2 separate regions of the Homo sapiens genome follow, and region 2 is linked to region 1. The links are contacts of gene promoters, found by promoter capture Hi-C in blood cells and fetal thymus (Javierre and others, 2016). All regions are on one chromosome and are shown on one strand. Each heading gives the region's core, a stretch centred on a gene start or on the middle of the fragment in contact. The rest is flanking DNA. Distances are from core to core; before and after follow the strand shown. Region 1 holds the start of ACCS (1-aminocyclopropane-1-carboxylate synthase homolog (inactive)). Region 2 holds the start of LOC105376646 (a long non-coding RNA gene).

Region 1 (5,535 bases), core at 2,475-4,974:
AATACATTTAGGATCTTTAGTTGTATCTCCTTTTCCTTTCCTGATACTGAAATTGATACATGCAGGAGGGGGATTACGGGGAGGGTCTCCGGAGAATCTCCAACCCATCTGTGCACTGGGAGAACAAGATGGAGCCAAGGGAAGCTGTGGCCATGCTCAGCGGGGAGGAGCCTGGCCTCTTCAATTTCTGTGTGGTGGCCTGGGATTCAATGTGAGTTTGGAGGCCTGTTAGCAGGACCCCCTCTTGCTCTGCTGACAGTATTTTTCTTTTTTCCTTTTTGCCCAGTAAATTCCGTTCCCCTCACCCTTCAATGTGTCCATGTTCCTAATCCTTCCTGGTGGTGTGACAAGAACCCGGTTTTAGCTGAACTAAGGAGCAAAATTCTGCAACAAAATGAGTTTTTTTGATCAGTCAATCTAACTGTTTATCAACTGTATTGAACTTTTCAAAGAACCAACTTTCAGTTTCATTGATTTTTCTCGTTTCGCCTTCATTTCTGCTCTTATCTTTATTTCTTTCTATTTACTTTGGGTTTAATTTGCTCTTTTTTCTAGCTTATTAATGTGGAAGCTTAGATCATTTGTTTTAAGTTGGTTTCAAATATATGCATTACAAGCTATTCATTTCTCACTTAGCATTATTTTAGCTACATTCCATAAACTTTGATCTGCTGGTTTTTAATCATTCAAAATATTTTCTAATTTCCCTTGTGATTTCTTTTTTTAAATCAATGGTTTGCTTAGCATATGTAACTTAGTTTCCAAATATTTGGGGACTGTTCAGCTTTCTTTGTTAATGATTTCTACTTTAATTTCATTGTGACTAGAGAATGTACTCTATGGTTTCAATCCTTTGAAACTTATTAAGACAGTTTATGGCCAGATTTGTTTACAACATGTGGTCTATCTTAATGTTTCATTTGCACTTGAAAAGAAGTATATTCTGTGGTATTGGGGATGGTGTTCTATAAATGTCAATTAGATTAAATTTTTGTATAATGTCCAAAAGTTCTGATCCTTAGTGTCTTTTGATCCATTTGTTCTATCACCGAGAGAGTGGTATAAAATTTTCCAATTATTATGAACTTGTCTTTTCTCTTTTTCGTTCTGTCAGTTTCTGCTTCATGTATTTTGAAGCTTTGTTATTACGAGCATAAACTTTTAAGATTGTCACCCTGATAAATTAATCATTTTATTCTAAAATGCCCCATTTTATTTTTGTTAATTATTTTTGTCTTGAAGCCTACTATCAGATACCAATATGAACACATCAGCTTTTTTCATGATTATTATTTGCTTGTTTTTTTTCACATTTTTACCTTTGACCATTTGTTTTTGTATTTAAAGTGTGTCTCCTGCACACACCATATGCTTGATTCTTGCTGTTTTATCCAGTCTGATGATCTTTTAATTGATCTTTAGTCAATTCACATTTAATGTAACGTGTGTGTATGTCTTCCACTTAGGACAAGTGCCTGTGTTTGTTGTTTCGTGGGGTTAAATCCCCCTGCTGCATGTTTCCATGGTACCCAGTAAATAGTCTTTTTAAAATAGTCCCCACATTGTAAGTCGGCCTTCCCAATCAATCATGCAGGCTTTGGTTTGTCTTGCTCATCACCGTATCCTCGCATTTTACAGAGACCTGGCACATAACAGGCATTCACTGAGATGTGAATTACATAGAATTAAGATTTAAATAGAGGAAAATAATCGCTTCCTTATCTTACAGAAGAAAACAGTAAGGGCCAAAAAAGTCATGAGAGTTGCTCAAGGTCACAGTGTTAGCTAGTGCAAGGCAAAAGTGAAGACAAGAAGTGGAATGGCCAGAAGACAGCCATGTCTTCCCAGCCATACCTGTATTGAGAGATTCTGCTTATTTCCTTTCATGGGGAAAGAAGACTTTCCCATTCAAGGCACCTCAGAGACTGCAGCTCTACCTGGGACCTGGGTGCCCACTGTACCCATTGCCAGAATATGTAGAGCTTAGGGCAGAGTTTGAAAAATACTTTTGAAATTATATGTGTGTGTGTGTGTGTGTGTGTGTGTGTGTGTGTGTATGTAATTTTTTTTTTTTTTTTTTTTTTTTTTTAGATAGAGTCTCGCAAACACCCAGGTGGGAGTGCAGTGGCACGATCAAATTCACTGCAGCCTCTACCTTCTGGGCTCAAGTGATCCTCCCACCTCAGCCTCCCAAGTAGCTGAAACCACAGGCACATGTCATCAAGTCTGGCTAATTTACAAAAACATTTTGGCTGAGTGCAGTGGCTCACGCCTGCCATCCCAGCACTTGGGAGGCCGAGGCGGGCAGATCACGAGGTCAGGAGTTCAAGACCAGTCGGGACAATATGGTGAAACTCCATCTCTACTAAAAATACAAAAATTAGCCAGGCGTGGTGGTGCGTGCCTGTAGTCCCAGCTACTGGGGAGGCTGAGACAAAAGAATTGCTTGAACCCGGGAGGCGGAGGTTGCAGTGAGCAGAGATTGTGCCACTGCACTCCAGCCTGGATGACAGAGCGAGACTCCGTCTCAAAAAAACAAAAAAACATAAAAACCTTTTTTTGGTAGAGACACGGTCTCTCTATGTTGCCCAGGCTGGTTTCAAACTCCTGGGTTCAAGGGATGCTCCCACCTTGTCCTCTCAAAGTGTTGGCATTACAGGCGTGGGCCGCCACACCTAGCCAGAGTTCAACAAATATTGCAGGCACGTGTGGGAGACCAGGACATGCCTCCCCAAAACATGAAGGATTGTGCTAAAGACAAGCAGCAGCACATTCAGGAAAGCTCTCTACCCTGGCCCTATTTGCCTAAAAGTAGGACACAGGTTTACAAAGACAAAAGGTATCCTGTCCCTCTGTCTACCTAGGAGAACAAAGACAACTTTAGACCCCTATGGCCTGGAGATGGTACCAGAGGAATTTACATTAACAAGCTTGACTAACTGGCCTTTGTCTTTTTTTTTTTTTTTTTTTTTTGCCTTCTCACAAGTTGCCTCCTGGAGAGACTCAAAGCCCTATTTCTTTGTCTTGTAACTTAAAAAAATTACTGTTCTTTGTTGAAGATGCTATAAAAACTGGAATTCAAAGTCACCTCTTCCAGAACGACTCATTCCCTCCAGATTTCTCATGTATAAATGAAATACACATGTCAGTAAATTTCTGTCTGTTTTTCTCTTGTTAATTTGTCTTTTGTAACAGGAGTCTCCCCCAACTAAGAACCTATGAGGGCTACAGAAAATCCCCTACAAATGAAAGGGGCAGAAATGACAAACTGCGATGAAAGGCCATAAGGATGCTCACACCCGAATCTAAAAAGCCCTTTGTGTGGGCCGCAGCCAAGCATACTTTGGCAAGAAATTTCTGTGGCTCTAACCTCCTTTGAAAACTGGAGAACCAAGGCCAGGAGGCAGAAGGAGGTGGCAGACCCGGCCCGGCGGCGGCCCAGCACGCGCAGGCCACCCAGAGTGGAGGTGGGAAACGGCATTACGCCCCTTTCCCTTTTCCTGGTCCCGCGGTGCTACCTCGTGTGCCACCCTTAAAGCGTAGTCCCCGCCGAGACCGCCCCCGCCTGAGTGGCAAGGGGACGAACTGCGCCCTGAACAGGCCTGGAAGCCCAACCCGGTGCGGACCGCCCTCAGTCTCCTAGTCCGGGCGCGCTGAGCGCAGGGGGGCGCTGTCCTCACCCACGCGTAAGTCGCCGCAGGGCGTTTCCGGGCGGAGAAAACCTACACGTGATGGGCGCCCACCGAGTGCCAGCACCGCCTCCTCCAGCTCCGCCAAGTAGGTGGGATCCACTACTTTGCAGAGGAGGAAGCCGTTCAGGCCTCCCTCTGTGCACTTTGCAAAAGCCTCTGCCCTTCCATCTCGAATCCCTTGGCGCCGATCACACTTCCTCTGCCTGGAAACCTGGAGCCGTCTCTCGCGAGACGTCCTCCGCCCTGTAGAAGGCCGTTTCGGTTCTTCGTGCGCGGTAGCCGCCCCACTTGCGGGATTCCAAGGCCTCATCGAGTGCGGGTATCTGGCTGTGGATTCGCCGCCGTCCTGCTGGACGCCTGGAGGCTCGAACCCCGCCGCCCCCCTACCCCAGGCTTTACTCCCACCCCGGCTTCCGCCCACTGTGCTGCCCTTCCTCGGACCTGGGCTGTCGGGAGAGCTGGAGGTGAGCGCTCTTGGGAGAGCCCAGCCAATTTAAAGAGTACCCCTGAGAAGACTTTGCGGAGGAAAATTTAACTGCGGGTACCCGCTGAGTTTATGGTGCGCCCAGTGTTACCAGAGCTTGTGTTGTGCATCAGGACTGGGAAAATTGGCAAGGAGTTACGCTATAATGACTCATATTTTATTGAACTTTGGTCATCAGCCAGGATTTGTTCTAAGTACTTTATTGTCACTAACATATATATTTATGTCTTCACGGCCACCCCGAGGTGGTTACTGTTATATCCACTGTGCAGATGAGGAAACTAAACTGGCTTAGAGAAGTGAAGGAGTTCACACCCGCGGGCAGGAGTAGACCACCCTCTCCTTGGTGTCCACACCTCGTTTCTTCAGGACTGAAGAGGCAGGCCCTGGAGCTCTGCCTGGGTTGCCTGCACTTGTGGAGGTTCCCATTCCTCCCTTCCCTCAGTTCCTACCCGCCATCTGCCTCAGAACACCACATAATCTCATCCTACCCTTTACACCACAAGACCCCCAGGACTCCCAGGCAATACTCTGCTTTAACTCAGGAAATTTTAACCTGGCATTTGGTAATTGAGGTGAGCAAGGGTGGAAAAAGAATGTTGATGACCCCTTAGGCTGGAGAGTGAAAAACTTTTGCAGAAGTAGAACACGCTAAAGCAGCAATACATTAAAGTCACGTCAATGTGGCAAGTGCAGTCCCTGGCACGTACTAGGTCCTTAACAGATTTTTCTTGTTGAAGTCGTTGCACATATGGTTACAGCTAAGGGACACAGGAAGTGATGAGTGCATAAACCTAAAGGAAGGGGCAGATAAGAGAAAGGGGACTCCCATGACTCCAACTCCTTTCTGATGCTTGGTGCTATGGAAATCCCTTGAGCAGGCCTGTGCGTTTTGTCTTTTTGCAGATGTTCACCCTTCCTCAAAAGGACTTCAGGGCTCCCACCACCTGTCTGGGCCCCACCTGCATGCAGGACCTGGGCAGTAGCCATGGGGAAGATCTGGAAGGAGAATGCTCCAGAAAACTGGACCAGAAGCTGCCAGAGCTCCGTGGAGTGGGTGATCCTGCCATGATCTCCTCTGATACCTCCTACCTGTCCTCTAGAGGAAGAATGATTAAATGGTTCTGGGATTCAGCTGAGGAGGGCTACAGGACCTACCACATGGATGAGTATGATGAGGACAAGAACCCCAGTGTGAGTGAAGCTCCCCTCCCACTGGGACCCAAGAGAGAACTGCAGGGTGGGGTACCCTACCTTGACCAATAAGGCAGCATCCAGCCTGCTCTTATGAGGTTGGAGTTATGGTACTCTGACCTCCAAGAGGGCTTCTGATGTAGCTTAGAGAGGCCCCAGTGTACT
Region 2 (5,838 bases), core at 827-3,326, 460 kb after region 1:
TGGTGGCACGCACCTGTAGTCCCAGCTACTCGGGAGGCTGAGGCAGAAGAATCGCTTGAACCCAGGAGGCGGAGGTTGCAGTGAGCCGAGATTGCACCACTGCACTCCAGCCTGGGTGACAGAGCGAGACTCAGTCTCAAAAAAAAAAAAAAAAAAAGTGTGGACTACAGACAGTCCATCGAGGCTGGCTGTCTGGGGAGGAATTGGAGCAATGCAAACTGGATGCCTTTTTGCCCTCCACGTCCTCACAGCCCCACTGCCTTCTGGGTCTCTTAATCATCTATTTTGGGTCCAGATTTTTTAACCAGTTGAGATTCTTAACACCTGTCCCAAAGGATCGGTCAAGCTCCCCATTAATTCCCTATTTAGGAGGAAAGGGAGGCTTTGAGGAGGAGATTGACATGTCTGCAACTGTTGTGGAGCACAGGACTAGAGTTAGCACTTGAGCCTGCAAAGATTTTTCTGCCTCCATCATTCATTCATTCATTCATTTATTCACTCACTCATTTACTCACCTACTGTGTGCAAGGCCCGTTTGTTGAGCACCTACTATGTGCAAAAGCAATGTTCTAGGCATTGGAATACCTTCATGAACAAGACTGGCAAATATTTTGTCTTCAGCTATAGCCCAGTAGAAAAGACAGGCATGAGACAGAAGTTCAGAGAATAATTAAGGCATGCTATGACAAATCACTTTGCTCACATCTCTGCTCAAATGTCACCTCTTCTGAGTGACCTTTCCGGACCCCCATGTCTAAAATACCACCCCATCAATCTCCATCCCCTTTCCTGATTTTTCAAAAAGTAGGAGTATGAGTATTTGGTACAAGGTTATGCATTTCTTTGTTTTCCTGTCTTCCCCACTAGACAGTGCACACCACGAGGGTGGGAGTTGTGACCCCTTTGTGCTCTGTCTCCAGCACCTGACTTACCATGTGCTCTGAGTAGATACTTACTGAATGAAACATGAATGAATGAATGAATGCTACAAAGAAGATATACAGGTGCTCTGGGAGGAAAAACAGGGAAACCCAGCCTAGCCTGGAGTTCAGGGGGAGGTAACCCCCAAAGCAGGAGCTAACTTCAGACTGAGCTCCAAAGCAGGCCAGGACACTAGAAAAGAGGCAGGAAGTCTGGGCGCGGTGGCTCACGTCAGTAATCCCAGCACTTTGGTAGTCCAAGGTAGGCAGATCACGAGGTCAGGAGTTCAAGACCAGCCTGGCCAATATGGTGAAACCCCGTCTCTACTAAAAATACAAAAAAACTAGCCAGGCATGATGGTGTGCGCCTGTAGTCCTAGCTACTCGGGAGGCTGAGGCAGGAGAATTTCTTGAACCCAGGAGGCGAAGGTTGCAGTGAGCCAAGATTGAGCCACTGCACTCCAGCCTGGGCAATAGAGGAAGACTCCGTATCAAAAAAAAAAAAAAAAAGAAGAAGAAGAAAGAAGAAGAAGAAGAAGAAGAAGAAGAAGGAGAAGGAGAAGGAGAAGGAGAAGGAGAAGGAGAAGGAGAAGGAGAAGGAGAAGGAGAAGGAGAAGAAGAAGAAGAAGAAGAAGAAGAAGAAGAAGAGGCAGGAAGAGCATTTCAGGCAGAGGAACCACAGCATGCGCAGAGCCCAGGATATCGACGATCTACAAAGGTCCCCTATCTGCAAAGCTTCCCCTACAGGACAGTCACAGGCAGCTGCCTTGAGGGCACACCAGGGGGAGCCAGCAAGCCTTTGATGGCACCGCAAAAGAGGCTCCAGATCCTCGGATTAAAATTCTGGCTATGTGATCTTCGGCAAGCTCTTTAACTTCCCTTAGTTAGCCTCTTTTCTCATTTGTAAAATGGAGATGAGAGTGACACCTACCTTGAGGGGTTACTGTAAGGACACAGAATGACAACTTCAAGTTTTTTAGATGAGAGCCTGATCCGTGGTGAGACTTTAACAAATGCTGGTGGCCGGGTGCAGTGGCTCATGCCTGTAATCCCAGCACTTCGGTAGGCCGAGGCAGGAGGATTGCTTGAGGCCAGGAGTCCCAGACAAGCCTAAATAACATGAGATCCTGTCTGTACAAAAAATTGGAAAATTAGCCAGGTGTGGTGGCATATGCCTGTGGTCCCAGCTACTCAGGAGGCTGAAGTAGGAGGTTTGCTTGAAACCAGGAGTTCAAGGCTGCAGCAAGTCATTGATTGTGTCACTGCACTCCAGCCCGGGTGATAGAGTAAGACCCTGTCACTAAAAAAGTTAAAAAAAAAAAAAAAAAAAGCTGGCTATGTTAGCACAGTGCTGCCTCTCCTCACCCACTAGAAAATTTAGGCCAAGGTAATCGGGCTGTCACAGAAGCAATATTCTCAGCTGGCTTTAATCTAGGAACGGTGGGGTGGAAAATAAAAAAGACTCCCAGTCCCTTGAGCAAAGCAGTTGCCTCAGCCTCAGTATCCCCATCTGCTCAAGGAGGCCTCGGCCGGCTTCTCCGTGTGGCCGAGTTTCCCTCTCACGGCCTGTTCCCAGCCAAGCTTCCAGTTCCCTGAGGTTTTCACTTCCTGTCAGAGACCTCAGGGCCTTACACATCCAGGCCTTCACCTCCTGCACGGATATTTTGCACTTTCCACCTTCCCCCAGCCCAGATGTCCTGGAGTCCTGCCTCCCCGGCTCCCTCTGGGCCTGCTCTCTGTCCCTGCCTGGCCACCACCTAGCCAGCAAGCTGTTGGTGTCTCCCCAGGCACGCAGCGCCTGGTGCAGGGGCTACACTGCCCTGAAAACCCCCAGGATACCAAGCACCCCCGAACTCCACCCATCTGTGATGACTTCAGCAGAAAGTCCTGCCCATACTTGTGGAAATTAGTGTGTGTGTGTGTCGGGGGCGGGGGTTGGGGGCTAATCTTAGAGAGGGCCCTATTTGCCCCTCGCTGCACACCACAGGGAAGACATGCTCCAGGTAAGTGCACGTTTTCACACATACTCTCGAGTGCACGTGGGCTCGAAAGGGCTGGAAAAGCTTCCCCCTGGACAGAGCTAGTCTCAGAAACTCAGGACGTGGGAAGGGGGTCACTGAGGGGGAGGCTCTGGCACTGGGCCCAGCACTGTGGTTTCTGATGCTGCCTCAGCCGCCAATTGGAAGGAAGCTTGGGAGGAGGAGGAGGAAGCGCTGAGTGTGCAAATGAGCAGTGACATGGGAAATCTCACAGGGCAGAGGCAGCCTTCAGGATCTACACCAGGACGAGGTGACCTGGTTTCCCCTGGCTTGGTGGCCCTGGAGGAGTCACTGTGCTTCTCTAGGCTGATTCCCTCTTCTGCAAAATGTCAGTCCCAGACAGTAGGCAGCAAAGAGTGGGTAGACCCGAGTCCCAGTCACAGCCAGTCTCCCCGGGATCCTGAGGCTGCAACAGAGGGTGCTCCTCGCTGGGCCTCCATGTCCTCATCTACAAAATGGGGACAGTGACCCTGATCTTGCAGGATTGCCCCAAGGTTGAGAAATGGTGTACACAGAGCATCAGACACACTACCTCTTAGATACATCCCTTCCTCGAGGTGCCTGCCAGGCCCCAAGTGAGATCAAGCCTCCTCTCTAGGGTCTTCCCTCACCGACAGTGGCCTTCACAGCACTGGGTGCTGTCTGAACTTTTATGCATATTCATGGGATGATTTGACAAACGTCCCTTTCCGCACTAGATTGTAAGCTCCTTGAAGGCAGGGATCCCAGCCTGGCACATAGTAGGGGCTTCTCTTAGTCAAGATCCAGCTAGGAAACCAGAACTCAAGTCAGGTATTTCAACAGAGGGCATGTGATATAGGGAGCTAGTTCGGAAGGTGTTGGAGGAGCTGAAAGGCCTGACCGGGGATGGTGAGCCACCCACCGACAAGCAGCGGCAGGCAGCTGTGACAACCTGGGACTCCAGAGACCGGGGAGGAAGTGCCGATACCCAAAGCCTGGGAACCAGACTAGGTGTGGGACACCGGAACCACAGTCAGGCAGGGGGCTGCCCATGGGAGCTGGAACCCTGGCGGTGACCCAACCACTTCCCAAGTTGCCACTAAAGCAGAGAGAAATGAGGAGGAAGACCCTGGCTCCTCCCTTCCGCCCCGCCCGCTGATCTCCATCCAGTTCTTCCCATTGGCCAAGACTAACAGGAAGCCGGCGGGCAAAGGAGCCTGGGAAATATATCAACAGTTGGCAGGAGTCAGCCCCGAGACACAGGGGAGGGCCAGGGAAAAGTAGAGGATCCATCCGTTCGCTTTCTGAGAGGGAAGGACAAATGGCAGTCCCAGGGCTCCCCTTATTTACTGGTTCACAAATGCCTACAGCATTTACGAGGCACACAGGGCAATGTTCTGAGCTTTTGACGAATGAGCAGCAGGAGTTCAGTAAATGATACCCGTCCTTGTTGATGGTGCTTTTGTTTTTGTGGTCAGACGCGTTCCAAGGGGCTCAGACCTGCTGTGATTCTGAGATTTTTCTGTCTCTGACCCCAAGATCCTCACCCCAACCCTGGCCTTTTTGGGCTCAGGGAGCCCAGACCCACCCCCTTCTCCAGGCCCTGCTGAGAGTAGGGGGAGGAAGGGCAGAGGATGCAGCCCCCCGGGCCTGAGCCCCTGCAGAGCCCCTCCATCTCTGCCCCGGGCTCCGTGGGGAGCAGGCTCTCCCTCTCCCCGCCTGTCAGTCAAACCCTGCCGCTTGGAAGTTCAAGCGTGGCCAAAAGGAAGCAGATTTCAAAACACACCTCTGCTCGACCCGCTTTCCTCCCCGCCCCCTCATCCGAGCTGACCCAGGCTCTCTGGGGGCTCCCTTGCCCCAGGCCTATCCCAGACAGAGCTGAAACCATAAGGATCTGGGGTAGACGTCGGGTGGGGTGTGGGGAGCAATAAGGGGAGCCAGCAAAGGCTCCCCCAGCAGCCTCGGCCCACCCCTGTCTGAGGGCTGCTCCTCCTGCGTGGAGAAGAACCTGAGGCAGATCCTCAAGAAGGGCCCTGGGGGCGACAGGTGGGAGGGGCCTGACCCCTGAAATTCAGTAAGGCCGGGGGCCTGCCTGCTACCTTTCCACACTTGGTGTTTTATTTATGATGCCATCCCTGCACTAGCACAAGCCTTGGCTTCTAGAAGATTCTCTGTAAATATCTGTTGAGTGAATGTGTGAATTCGTGAATTCCCACTAAGGAGAAATTGGTTCCACTTTGACTCAGAAGGTGAAGGAAGGTGTGGGGCTGGAGGGGCCCTGATAGTTCCACCAAAACCAGAGCCTCAGGGGCCTCGCTCCTCTGTCATCGCCTCCCTCTGGCTTCCTCTCAGCAAGGGGGTTCGGGTCAGAGCCCTTGGGACCCCATCCCAACCCTGCTGCCTTCTAGCTGTGTGACATTGGACAAGCCAGTCCCTCTTCAAACCTTAGCTTTCCTCACCTATGTCATGGGGAGAGACCTGTCTCCTCCACAGCGTACTGTGAGCCCTGAATTGAACCAGGTCCCACAAATAAATCCTAGTACAGCTCCTGTGTGCAACAAAACAGGCCTCACAGATACCAGCAACCTCACAGATACCAGAATGCACTGGAATGCCTTTCCACAAGGTTGTCAATAGGGTTAAAAGCACGGCCACTGTGAACAAATAGCAAATAGCCATTGCTTCTTGGCAATTTCTTTGCAAAGGCAGATGGAAATGAAGCAATGCCCAGGCGTGGAGGCCGATTTTGGAATGAACGTCTTGACAGTGGGAGTTCACCCTTCCGGGTTGTTTTGCGAGTTTTTTTCTCATCTCCCCTGGTGCCGTCCTCTCAAAGCCCGATCATAAAAGCAACGACAGCTGGGACCACATTGTTCACTTTATTGCAGTTTTGTTTTCCGTTTGGAAAATCTCTCCCT

What was found. The method cuts DNA at HindIII sites, captures the fragments that hold promoters and counts their contacts. A CHiCAGO score of 5 or more calls a contact.
Region 2: a fragment that was not itself captured here is called in contact with the fragment with the promoter of ACCS in region 1 in 1 of 17 cell types (endothelial precursors); the score reaches 5.5 in endothelial precursors.

What each region holds. Positions count from the first base shown.
Region 1 is chr11:44,062,546-44,068,080 of GRCh38, forward strand. It overlaps ACCS (1-aminocyclopropane-1-carboxylate synthase homolog (inactive)), which reads left to right and starts at 3,725. Exons shown (of 15, transcript NM_032592.4): 1 at 3,725-4,156; 2 at 5,083-5,370. The coding sequence starts at 5,083. RefSeq lists enhancers at 3,365-3,494, 3,595-3,684, 3,705-3,894. The HindIII fragment of the contact is 11,098 bases long and covers 2,929-5,535 here.
Region 2 is chr11:44,521,988-44,527,825 of GRCh38, forward strand. LOC105376646 (a long non-coding RNA gene) reads right to left here and starts at 4,079. Exons shown (of 5, transcript XR_931232.1): 1 at 3,492-4,079; 2 at 1,852-2,051; 3 at 516-621. The HindIII fragment of the contact is 846 bases long and covers 1,654-2,499 here.